2 separate regions of the Homo sapiens genome follow, and region 1 is linked to region 2. Evidence: promoter capture Hi-C in 16 types of primary human blood cells and fetal thymus (Javierre and others, 2016). All regions are on one chromosome and are shown on one strand. Each heading gives the region's core, a stretch centred on a gene start or on the middle of the fragment in contact. The rest is flanking DNA. Distances are from core to core; before and after follow the strand shown.

Region 1 (5,586 bases), core at 2,082-4,581, 89 kb after region 2:
AGCTAGAAGAGTTGGAATATTCCCAAGACAAAGTAATTTCAATGTTTGAGGTGATGGATACCCCAATTATTCTGATTTGATAATTATTTTATGCATGTATCAAAATGTCACATGAAATCCAGAAATAATATGTACAATCATTATGTATCAATAAAAACATATATTTATTGGATGAGTAAATGAGTTAACTAATACAATCTTTAATTCATTTATTTATTCACATTAAATTAATCTCCAAAACCCATGGTTAGATGCACTAACCAATTTAATTCTTATTTCTTTATAAAGCGTGTACTACAGTGTGCCTATTTTACAGTTTTGAAAATTGAGATGTACAGAAGTTAAGTAACTTGTCCAAAGTCATCCCTCTAACAAACAGTGAGATCAGAATATAAGGAAAGCATTCTGCAGCTTGCAATCTGTGACCACAGTTTTATTGTGGGACTGTGGGGGTTGGGGGAGCCTGGATAGGAGAGTAGGAGGCACCAGGAGGATGGCTAGAAAGCAAAGTCCTAATTCTTTCCTTTACAGGGCCTCTGACCTTTCCCTACCTTATTGTCCTCACTTGTCCATGTGGACAACATTCTCCCTATTTGCTGGGTTATAGTGAGGATTGGATTTAAAAGTCAAATAGAAATCTCTAAAGTTCTATGCAAAACATATGTGAAATTAGTATTTAGAGGAAGGCGATTATAAATTGGCCAAGAAGAAAGTATTTTTGAAATGCTGGGTAAATGCAGATGCAGAGGTTTGGGATGGAGAGGTTACCTTCTCTCAGAGTAAATAGAACTGAGGAAACCAAGGGCTTCAGGGAGCTTCAGATTTCTCTGGAAATCTTGGTCAGAGTCAGGGGAACTGGAAGTAAGATGTGGGAGGAAGAGCAATTAAAAAAAACAGAATGGCATTTGCAAAATGTATATATGTACATAGAGATCATAAATGTTAATTGGCCTTAGGAGCATTTGATCAATGCTATTTTGTATTTTTCTAATAAGCTTTAAAGTACATATTAGTAATTTAAATACTTATTGGAGGATGTTTATAGTTACAGAACAATATTTTCTGTTTGCTATTCCTTTTGCCCTGTCTCTTGAATATATCTCAGTGTTCCTTTCAAATATAAGATAAAGTTAAAAGGTTTTTTTAATCATCTAATTAAGGATGAAAGATTAGCTAACTGAATTATAAAGGGGCTGATCTCTCTCCATTCCCCACCCCATCCTCCTGCTTCTTTTATAAGTGAATTAACATGCAATTTAAATTGAATGAATTATAGCCTATCAGAAGATATAATTTAATAGCTCCTGGAACAAAAACCAGTAGGGAAATAAGCTTAACTGAAGTTAAAGTTGCCTTAAAATGTAGTTTGAAATTGGATTTTGAATTACTTAATATATAAATTCCAGAGTTCTGAAGCATGATGTATTTTGGTTCTGATTGTTTTTATGTTCTTTGTGTTAAAATTTGACACATTTCTAAACTATATAATTTGATTGTAACAATACCTGTATTGATTTTAATAGTTTATAATTAACCATCTATAGGTATAAAATGCTAGAGCTGAGGGAGCTTTCAGCATAGTATTTCTGAGAGTTCTTCAGAAGCCTAGTCTTGTAAGATGCACTGAAAATCAAAATTATTCTTCAGGTAATCAAGTTGAAAAATACTGCACACAGTGACCCACTCTCAGAAACTTGCAATGGGCATGAACTTATTAAAGACTCTGGTAAGTTTTCAACAACAAAAACCTATCAGTTTTTGTTCAACTGTTGTTCCAATATACTTCACCACAGAGCCCTTCTGGACAAACAGCTATTAGTGACTTTGTAATATTTAGTCCCAGGTCAAGTGACTTGCCCAGGGATACACAAACGCAAAAATCCTGATTCTACAGCTAGCTAATGTTCTCACCCCAAAGAAAAAATATATATCATTATTATAGCCGATTTTCAGAGAACACATGCTTACTACTAGTGATTGTTTTAAAAATGTTCATAATCATCTGTTTAATAACCTGTTCTAAATGTTGCTGGTTATTAATATCAAGTTCTTCAATCTGTAGTTACTACTTTTTTTTTCCTCTTCTAAATCAGATTTTATTAATATTTCTGATCCACTATGACATCTAGTGTAGTTACTACTTTTTGAAACTGAAGACATTTGCCAATCTTTAATTCTTTGATTTAAAAAAATTTGTCTTGGTTTCCCAAATATATTGATAATGGTTTTATAAACATGTATTCAAGTTTCATATGATATAATTGTTCTGATTTGGTTATTTGAAATTCTTGAAAGCAACAAGTTATTCTCTTACAATTACCTCATATATCTTAAGTTTACTTTTCCCTTTAACCATTATTTTGACTTTTCAATTCTTCTCCTTCTTAAAGTAAAATAAATGGAATATTACTTTAATTTTTGCTTATGGCCAGCTCTATACAACAACATTAGTGGTATGTAATTTAATCCAATATGTAATACTTATATATTGGCTTTTGGAGCTTTAGATTTAAAACATTAAATCTAGGAAAACTTTAGGAAATTTTGCTCATGATATGCCCATAATTTAAATTTAATCCTGGAGTATTTCTAGAATTTCTCTGAAAATTAACTCATGTATTTGGATTAATTTCTGATTAATTCAAACATTACTGCCTGTACCCACCGACAAAGAGGAAAACTGATATAATACTGAATGTCACCACCTGGTTTAAAAACGGGAACTATCTTTTATATAAGCAGTAGTTGGTCCATATCCATGATACTCATGAAATTCTTAAGATAAAACTTCCCTAAAGGCACACCAGAGTGTAATCTACAGGCCTGGCAATATAAAATAAGAGAGTTTGAAGGAAACAGCCTCAAATGACATTTATTAGGGTGAATTTATGAAGGGAGGGAAATTCAATGGAGGGAAATACAATGTAAAATTCTGCAGCTTTGATGGGGCACAGTATGTATAACAGATTCAGAATGTTCCCCCTGTGTTGGGAATAGCATAGGAACAGTTACTATACTATTTATTGATTGATGGTTAATCAATGGGCAAACTTTTCCTACAGAAAAGTTAAGAGCTTGACATCATGGAGGGCTCCATTCTGTGTGAAGTGATGAGGCAAGAAAGTGAGGGAGACTGGTAAACCCACAAAAGAAGCTGGTGAAAGAGTGGGGAAGACAATTGGTGTAGGATGTAGACTCAGCTTTCAACTAGCAATTGCTTGAGATCTATGGACTCTGAGGTATGATGGAAGGCACGACACCAACTCCAGGTAGCATAACTACACTGATAAATAACATTTCCTGAGATTCTGCTATGTCCAGGTATTTTCAATTAGAATTCAGTTTGATCATCAGTACAGCCACAATCAATATTATAATTACTGTCTTGTATAAATGTGAAAACTAAGGCTTAAGGAGTTAAGAAATTTGTTGAAGTTCCTGGAAAGTGTCAGGGCCAGACTTTACGTCTGAGTCTGTTGAGTTATGAGTTCAGGACCTTGGCCAGGTCCTGGCTATACTGTCTACCAATAGAAGTGTCCAGGCAAGCAGTTGATGCTGATGTCCAGGATATCTGAATAGAAAATTAGTACATCAGAATAAACATTTGGGAGAACACTTACTCAGCCCCACGTTCTGACCTTTAAGGTTTGGTGTGAAGAACCATGGCTGTAATGAATTAAATATAATCCTTGTTTTAGGGAGGTCTCAGTCTAGTGTGTTTAAGACAAGTCCTTCCAAAGCATTTTGACAGCTGCAGAGAGGACATGAAGCACTGGAATTTGAATGCTTGCTGCCAGGTGTGTACTTCTCAGATCCCCACAGCCTTCACTGCTTCCTACTGTTAGTTGATTCACCCATTTTCAATATGTTCTGGACCCTTAAGACATTTCAGTTGATAACTTTAGTTCAGAATTTGTTGCACAGGGGAGAGAGGGGGCAGTGTTCAAGTAGTTGCACTTTTAGTGAGGTGATGAGTACATAAATAAAAAAAAAAGTAACATCATTTATAAATTTGGTATTTAGAAATATTTTCTTTCTACCTAATTAAGTATAATTTTCCTCCCTGTTTTAGCAAAACCCAGTCATTCTTTCTTTTATTTATTTAAATTATGACCATGTGATAGTATAGTGTCTTATTTATATATTTGCTTTTGGCTAAAAAGTTTGTAATCATATCTTTATTGAAAAAGTGTTTCATACTTACAAAATAAGAAAAGGAAAAAAATTACCCTTAATCCTATTGCTACAGGGAAACACTGTTCCTGTTAACTTCTGGGGTTTTATGTACAAGTATACTCATTTCTACATTTTTTCCCAAAATGAGACATTCTATATATGCTATTTGTAACTTATTTTTTTCCACTTAGCAGTATGTCATAAATGTTTTTTGTATCATTAAGCATATTAATTTTTGACTTACATAGACTTTGTTGAAAGGATCTGTCATAATTTATTTAATTAAATTTCCATTGAAGAGCATTTATTGACCTTTATATTAATAATTTTTATTTACTTTTAAATTGAAATTTACAAGGAAATACCCAGTGTTCATTTTCTGATTGTTAAGAATGAGTTAAGTTTCTCCATGATTCTTAATGTTGTCAGTGCTGATGACTTGAACAGAGCCACTTACAACTTCCTGTTAATGTTTCTGAGATGAGAGACACCGAAGAAGATCCATTTTAACTAACCCTTGACAGAAGGATGCAAAGTAAATGAAGAAATGATTCATGTGACTCTAAACCTGAGACCTGACTTGCTTCTCTTGCTTGGCACTAGGTGGCACTTTAGCTGTTGAAAAGAAATGTCAGGTAATCTTTAGAAATGGAAGTTATTTAGGCTTGATTTCTGCCTAACCTTTCCAGTGATAATTACTTAGGTTCTTTCTGCTTTTTAAAATGTTTCTCCTGTATGATTACCCTTTTGCAGTACCATTTGGCAGGTTTCATTTTGTCCACTTTTAAACCTTCAAAATATTAGTTTTCCTCTCCCTCCTACTGGTCAGTCTGAAGTAAAATGCAAAACCAAAACCCAAAATAAACAAATGGAAACTAACCAACTAACTAACCAAACAAACAATCTGGATTAAAAGTGCGATAGAATCTTAACTTTGAGGAGTCTCAATTCAGATATAGCCCCCAGCATAAATAAATAAAATTTTTAGTTTTTCATGAAATAATTGAACATGAACTTTCAAAAACCATGCTTATAACTTACTCAAGTGCTGATGATGTGTGGGAAAGTGTTGAATCCTGGCTAAATTTTTTTCTGCCATCTTGTTAAGTGCCATACTCCCAGAATATGTTTGCATATACAAAGAAGAAAGCTTATTTGAGGAACACAATAAAAAGGCACATCCTACATTAAATTCATTTGATTGCCATAAGCGATTAATTTCTTGAATTATTAGATGATTAGAATTATGATGTTGAGTTTTCTTTTCAAAAGAGCAGATTATTGGGAGTTCACCCATGCATTAATAGGTTAATTTTGACTTTGATAGACACAACAATTCCCCAAACAGGCTGCTTGCTTCTCTTGTTAACACAACTAAATTAATTCTATTTTTTTAGGAAAATGAGTGTC
Region 2 (5,386 bases), core at 2,392-4,891:
TTTCCTCCTGTGCCTTCTCATTCATTCAGCACCCTGTTAAGCATCTGGTGGATGCCCCAAATTTGTTTACTATCTTGCTTCCTATCACTATTCCCATAATTGACCAGATATGACAGTGCTAAAAGTCAGAATGGGGTACATGGTGGTGGTAGCTGACTCTCTGACAAATGGCTGTCTTCAAATGCAGTGGACTGTTTGAGTAGAAAGTGAGTCATTCTGAGTGGAGGTGTTAAAACAGAGAGCAAAATATTATTGAGAACCTCATTGTGGGGTAAGACTGGATAAATGGTCTATCAAAGAGAATCTTGTTCTTATCCTAGTAGAATAAGAGGAGGCTTTCATTTTCCTATCAGGCATTCTATTGTTAAATTGATCATTTATATTAAGATGTAAAGACATAAGAAAAAATCTAAGGCCTTGGCAGTGGCTCACACTTGTAATCCCAGCACTTTGGGAAGCTGAGGCAGGTGGATGGCTTGAGCTCAGAAGTTCAAGACCATCCTGGGAAACATGGCAAAAGCCTGTCTCTAAAAAATGCAAAAATTAGCTGGGCATGGTGGTGTGCACTTGTAGTCTCAGCTACTTGGGAGGCTGAGGTGGGAGGATCTCTTGAGCCTAGGAGGCGGAGGTTGCAGTGAGCCGAGATGGCACTGCTGCACTCTAGCCTGGGCAACAGAATGAGACCTTGTCTCAAAAAAAAAAAAAAAAAAAAAATCTAGTAGCATTATTGGGGTGTTTCAATAAAGCTAACAGAATAATAACCCAAGTAGTAGTAAACATTGGAGATAGTATTGTTGACTGTAACATTTACTGGTGAAATAAATGAAACTGTAAAATAGAAAAATCACTGAAGTACCTCGGTTTTATTGGAAATAAAACAATGGTTCTGACTAAAATATATGCACACGAAAATTGGATTGGGAATATATTGTCCTCTGGCTAGTGATGTTGGGTAGAAAAAAATGAAGAGGTGATTGGAGGATGAAGGGCAGAAAACAGCTGAGGATGGAGGTGAGAAGAGTTGTTTTTTTTTTCTCTGTTCTTGACCTGTTGAGCTGGATTCTTACTACCTCCTATTGCTAATCAAATAGCCCAAGGAGCCCCAGACCATTTTCAGGCATTCTTTCTTTCTACTACCATCTTGGCTACTGTTTATCTTGGTAGTCTATGGGAATCCATCTGGGTTCCTTCTTTGTTTAAAACTCAAAAAGATAAGCTCTGAGGTTGGGAAAGATACAAGTAATTTCCTTCTGTTTAAAAGCTGATGCCTCTAATACCTTGCTAACCAAGTTTACTCCATAGACCAGCAGCATGGACATTACCACGGAACTTGTTGGAAATTCAGAATCTCGGGACCTAACTGCTTGTATTAGTTTGTTTTCATGCTGCTGATAAAGACATACCCGAAACTGGGAACAAAATAAGGTTTAATTGGACTGACAGTTCCATGTGGCTGGGGAGGCCTCAGAATCATGGCTAGAGGCAAAAGGCTCGTCTTACATGGCAGTGGCAAGGGAAAATGAGAGAGAAGCAAAAGCGGAAACCTCTGATACTGATAAACCATCATATCTCGTGAGACTTATTTACTATCACGAGATTAGCATGGGAAAGACCGGCCCCCATGATTCAATTGATTCGTACTGGGTTCCTCCCACAACATGTGGGAATTCTGGGAGATACAATTCAAGTTGAGATTTCATGGGGACACAGCCAAACCATATCACTGCTGAATCATAACCTTTTTTTTAAAACAAGATCTCCATAGGATTCTTACGCACATTAATGTTTGAGAAGCACTGGTCTAACATATTTTGTTTGCTTTCCCATAGGGTGTACTCTACTCCCAGGGTGCCAGTGATTTCCTGGAATGAGTTTAATTGAGGCTGTGCTCTCTCTTAATTAATCTGTTAATCCATCTCACAGCTAATCCTTACAACAAACCTTCAAGATACCTTAATCCTTATATTGCAGATGAGACAGGACAGGTTAAGTAACTTATTTAAGGTCATGCATCTAGTAAATGATGAGGATGTGGTACCTGGGTCTCAGTCTGATTCTCAAGTCTTTTGTTGTTGTTTTTCCTATACTATATTGCTTTTCCTTGAACTTAATCATGGGTAACTGTTTATGTATTGGGAGATGAAAGCCCATTTAAACATAAGGGCTGTAAAAGACAGCCCTTTTGAGTGTGTTACAAGAAAAACACCTTTCATTCCAAAATTATTTTAAATACTGTTTTACACTTCCCGTGGGATGAAGAAAAGAAGACAGAGTGAAGCATCATTGGAGAAACTTGGCAAAATGGGAGAACTCTATCCTGTCATGCACACGCTTTATCCTGCCCATCAGCTGACTTTCATCTTGCTGCTGCTGGGGTAGGCCCCATATGTTCAAGCCTGTGTTGAGCCAGGTGCTAACAGCAGTACTGATTGTATTATGTTGAGGCTGCCCATATGCCTTCATGCAAACTGTAGTTCAAAAGCTGTAAAACTATTTGCATTTTCAGTCTATCGGATGGCTTTAAAAAAAAAACAGTGCCAATCAGTCTATTTGGATGCTTTATATTTGCCAAAAGACTGTAGAACTTATTGCCATCAACCAATTATCAGGAAATACTTAATTTTCAGAATAGTTACATTTTCCAGGGATAGTTGCAAGTGAAGAAACCCCATAAAACACTGGAGATGACCTTGATTACCTTTGTTCTTGGAAAACCTTATTTAGCTGGAAAAATAGGGGAGAGGCTGGAGGATTCTGGGTGGCTTTAGCTTTGGGTTTGTAACCCACATGGACCTGTTTCAAGCTGGGTGACATCTAGTGTGGGCTGTTCACACTGCACAGACATTATTAGGGAATAGATACCTAAAGTGAGCAATGATTAGGAGGATGAAGTGAGCATAAGGCAGTCCCAGTACCTTTAAGGTAGAACTGGGTGTATGAGCGGGGCATGCAGACAGTTTTCAGCTGGGTGAGGATAGGGGAAGAACTGATGTTTCTTGATTGATCTCAGGGCTGTTCTCACACTTGCAGGGGGCTCTGTTGGCTCTTCCTTGTGAAGGGTGTATGCGTTATCTTTCCTGTGCCCTGGCCGGCCTTGCTTTTTCTAAAGTGATGACCTTGAGGACCTTCAAGCTTAGGAGCTTTCAGAGCCGGATTTGCCACCTGGGAGCGGAACCTGATAGTAGCGCCCTCCTCGAGCGCTCCATAGTCACTGTGTCCTTCCTCTTGCTCTCTTCCTGACGTTAGCAGAGGACTGGGACTCGCGAGAGAGGACTCACGGACCTCCAGGACCTATTAACTTGACAGACCCGCCCCTCTATTCGAGCCAGCCCAACTCGGAGAACTCAGAGTCATCCTCGAGAGTAAAGAAAGCTCTTAGAGTTTTTTTTTTTTGACAAATCTATCTTAAATGTCAGTCCAATATCCACGGCGACGAGCCACAGCAGGTAATTAAAAGCAATTCACTGTCCCCTGCCGGGAAGTTTACCTTTCTCTCTCTTGCTCTTCCGACCTTCGTCGCGTGAAAGCGGTGGAAGTGCTTTGCTCCCTAAGCAGCAGTGTACGTCGCCGAGCTGGCACAGGAATGAGGGATGGACTGAGCGGGGATTCACCCTCCTCCTCCCGCCGCCGCTGTGGCCGCATTGTGGAGGCAGAGCGCGCGGCGGCGGCTGGAGCTGCGGCCCCAGGATCTAGCGGCGGGAGCTGTCCGGGGTGCTGACCGCCCCGCCCGCCGCCCGCCCAGCGCGCCCTCCTGCACCGGACCCCGCCAAGTCCGGCCTTCTTCCCATCCTCCGTCTGCCTGTCTTTCTCTCTTAATCTGGGGGCGTAGCGGCTGGAAGAAATCATGGTGTTCGCTCCAGGTACACCGCACCTTGCTTTTTCACCAAGTGTCTAGGAGGGGAGCAGGGTAGAGGACGGAGAGGAGAGGGAAAAAAGGCCTCTTTACCTTACGGCCCATCTGCGCGTTTCGGAGTTACTGTCTGTGCTCATGGGGCGGAGGAGTGCCTCGGCGCGTCGCCTTCGCCCCTCTCCCCAGTCCCGCCCCATCTGTCCTCTAACAATCTCCAGCCCTTCCTCGCCCTCGTCCCGCTGCTTCTCTTCCCATCTGGCTCCTCCACACCCCTTCCGAGCTCAGGAGCCTTAAGAACTGGGACTTTCGCCAGCAGCACCGGCACCTACACGGGCAAGAGAGTGGAGAGGTGGGGCAAAGAGTAGTGGGCTTCGGGCTACTTGCGTGGGAATCTCCCTCACTGCTACTTCCCCCTCCGCAGAATTGGCAAAGTGACCCGGGTCCTCCTGGCCTCCCGAGGAGAAGGAGGCGAAGTGGGCGAAGCCAAGGGGAGTAGGACGAAGGGCAGAGGAGCGATACTTCTTAAGGAATTAGACCTGAAACTCCGACCGGAGGCTGCAGCACAGAGGCAGCTACTGCGGCGCCGCTGGAGGTTGCCGTGTCTTTTTGGAGCAGGCGGTGAAGGACCTTGGTCCCTTTGCTGCTCTCCGTGGCTACTAGTTGGCGAAGAGTCAGATTTGTCTGCGGTTGACCGGCTTGGCGGCGTGTGCGTGCGTGCGCATTTGAGTCCGCCCCACTGGAGCAAGGGAGGCCAGGCTAATCGAGGAAGCGGGGAAAAGCGTGGTCGTTGTGAACGTCCGACGCTGTCTCTAGGGGTAGATCCAAAGTATTTCTCTCTCACGCATTTTAGGGTCTGATTTCGTTAAAGACTGCTGTGGAAAACAGGGAGTGGGGAAGGCTGGAGGGGCCTAGAACTCTCTAGCTTTGTTCCTGGGGTCTTTAACTTGAAAGATTGGCATGTATTTGCTGTGGTCATGGGCTTCAGATGGCTGGGGAGAAAAGGCGTAATGCATTTTTTTTTAAAGGGAAGAATTGAGTCTTTTCTTCAAAAAATTCAATTAGCAAAACTTGAGAAGAGCAAGTCAGTCCCCTCCCCCTCCCCCTCAGAATGCTAGCTGGGGAGGGAGGGATGAGTTTCTGTAGGCTCTGGCTTTACCACAGGCAGTGGTTCTTAGAGGAACGCCTTAAAGGAATGCCCAGGAGCTCTTCCCATGCCCATCCTAAATAACTCAAGGGAGGAAATTGTTCCATATAGCAAAGGACATTCAATCAACACTGGAGCAAGGAAGTTGGAAAACAGCTCTTTGCTGCATTTATACAGCACTTAACACTTTACAAAGCAGTTTCATGCTGCTATCTCATTTGATCTCCTAATTACCCTGAGAGTTAAGGAATATCATTCCTACTCTACCATCCCCAGGGAGGCTGGTTCCAGATAATCTTGCTAGTCTCTAATGGAGTTTTCTGACCTCGAATTCTGTCTTTTTCTCCCACAACCTTTCTTCCTGACAAAATATCTCACTGGCTCCAGGGGTA

The links. Contacts are between HindIII fragments. The CHiCAGO score rates a contact against its expected background, and 5 or more counts as called.
Region 1: a contact is called between a fragment that was not itself captured here and the fragment with the promoter of AKAIN1 in region 2, in 1 of 17 cell types (naive CD4 T cells). The highest score is 5.5, in naive CD4 T cells.

What each region holds. Positions count from the first base shown.
Region 1 is chr18:5,106,106-5,111,691 of GRCh38, reverse strand. No RefSeq gene overlaps it. Among named protein-coding and RNA genes, the nearest start is that of LINC01892, 28 kb to the right of the region's middle. The HindIII fragment of the contact is 3,994 bases long and covers 1,335-5,328 here.
Region 2 is chr18:5,195,512-5,200,897 of GRCh38, reverse strand. It overlaps AKAIN1 (A-kinase anchor inhibitor 1), which reads left to right and starts at 3,641. Exons shown (of 2, transcript NM_001145194.2): 1 at 3,641-3,860. The coding sequence starts at 3,845. The HindIII fragment of the contact is 4,568 bases long and covers 3,135-5,386 here.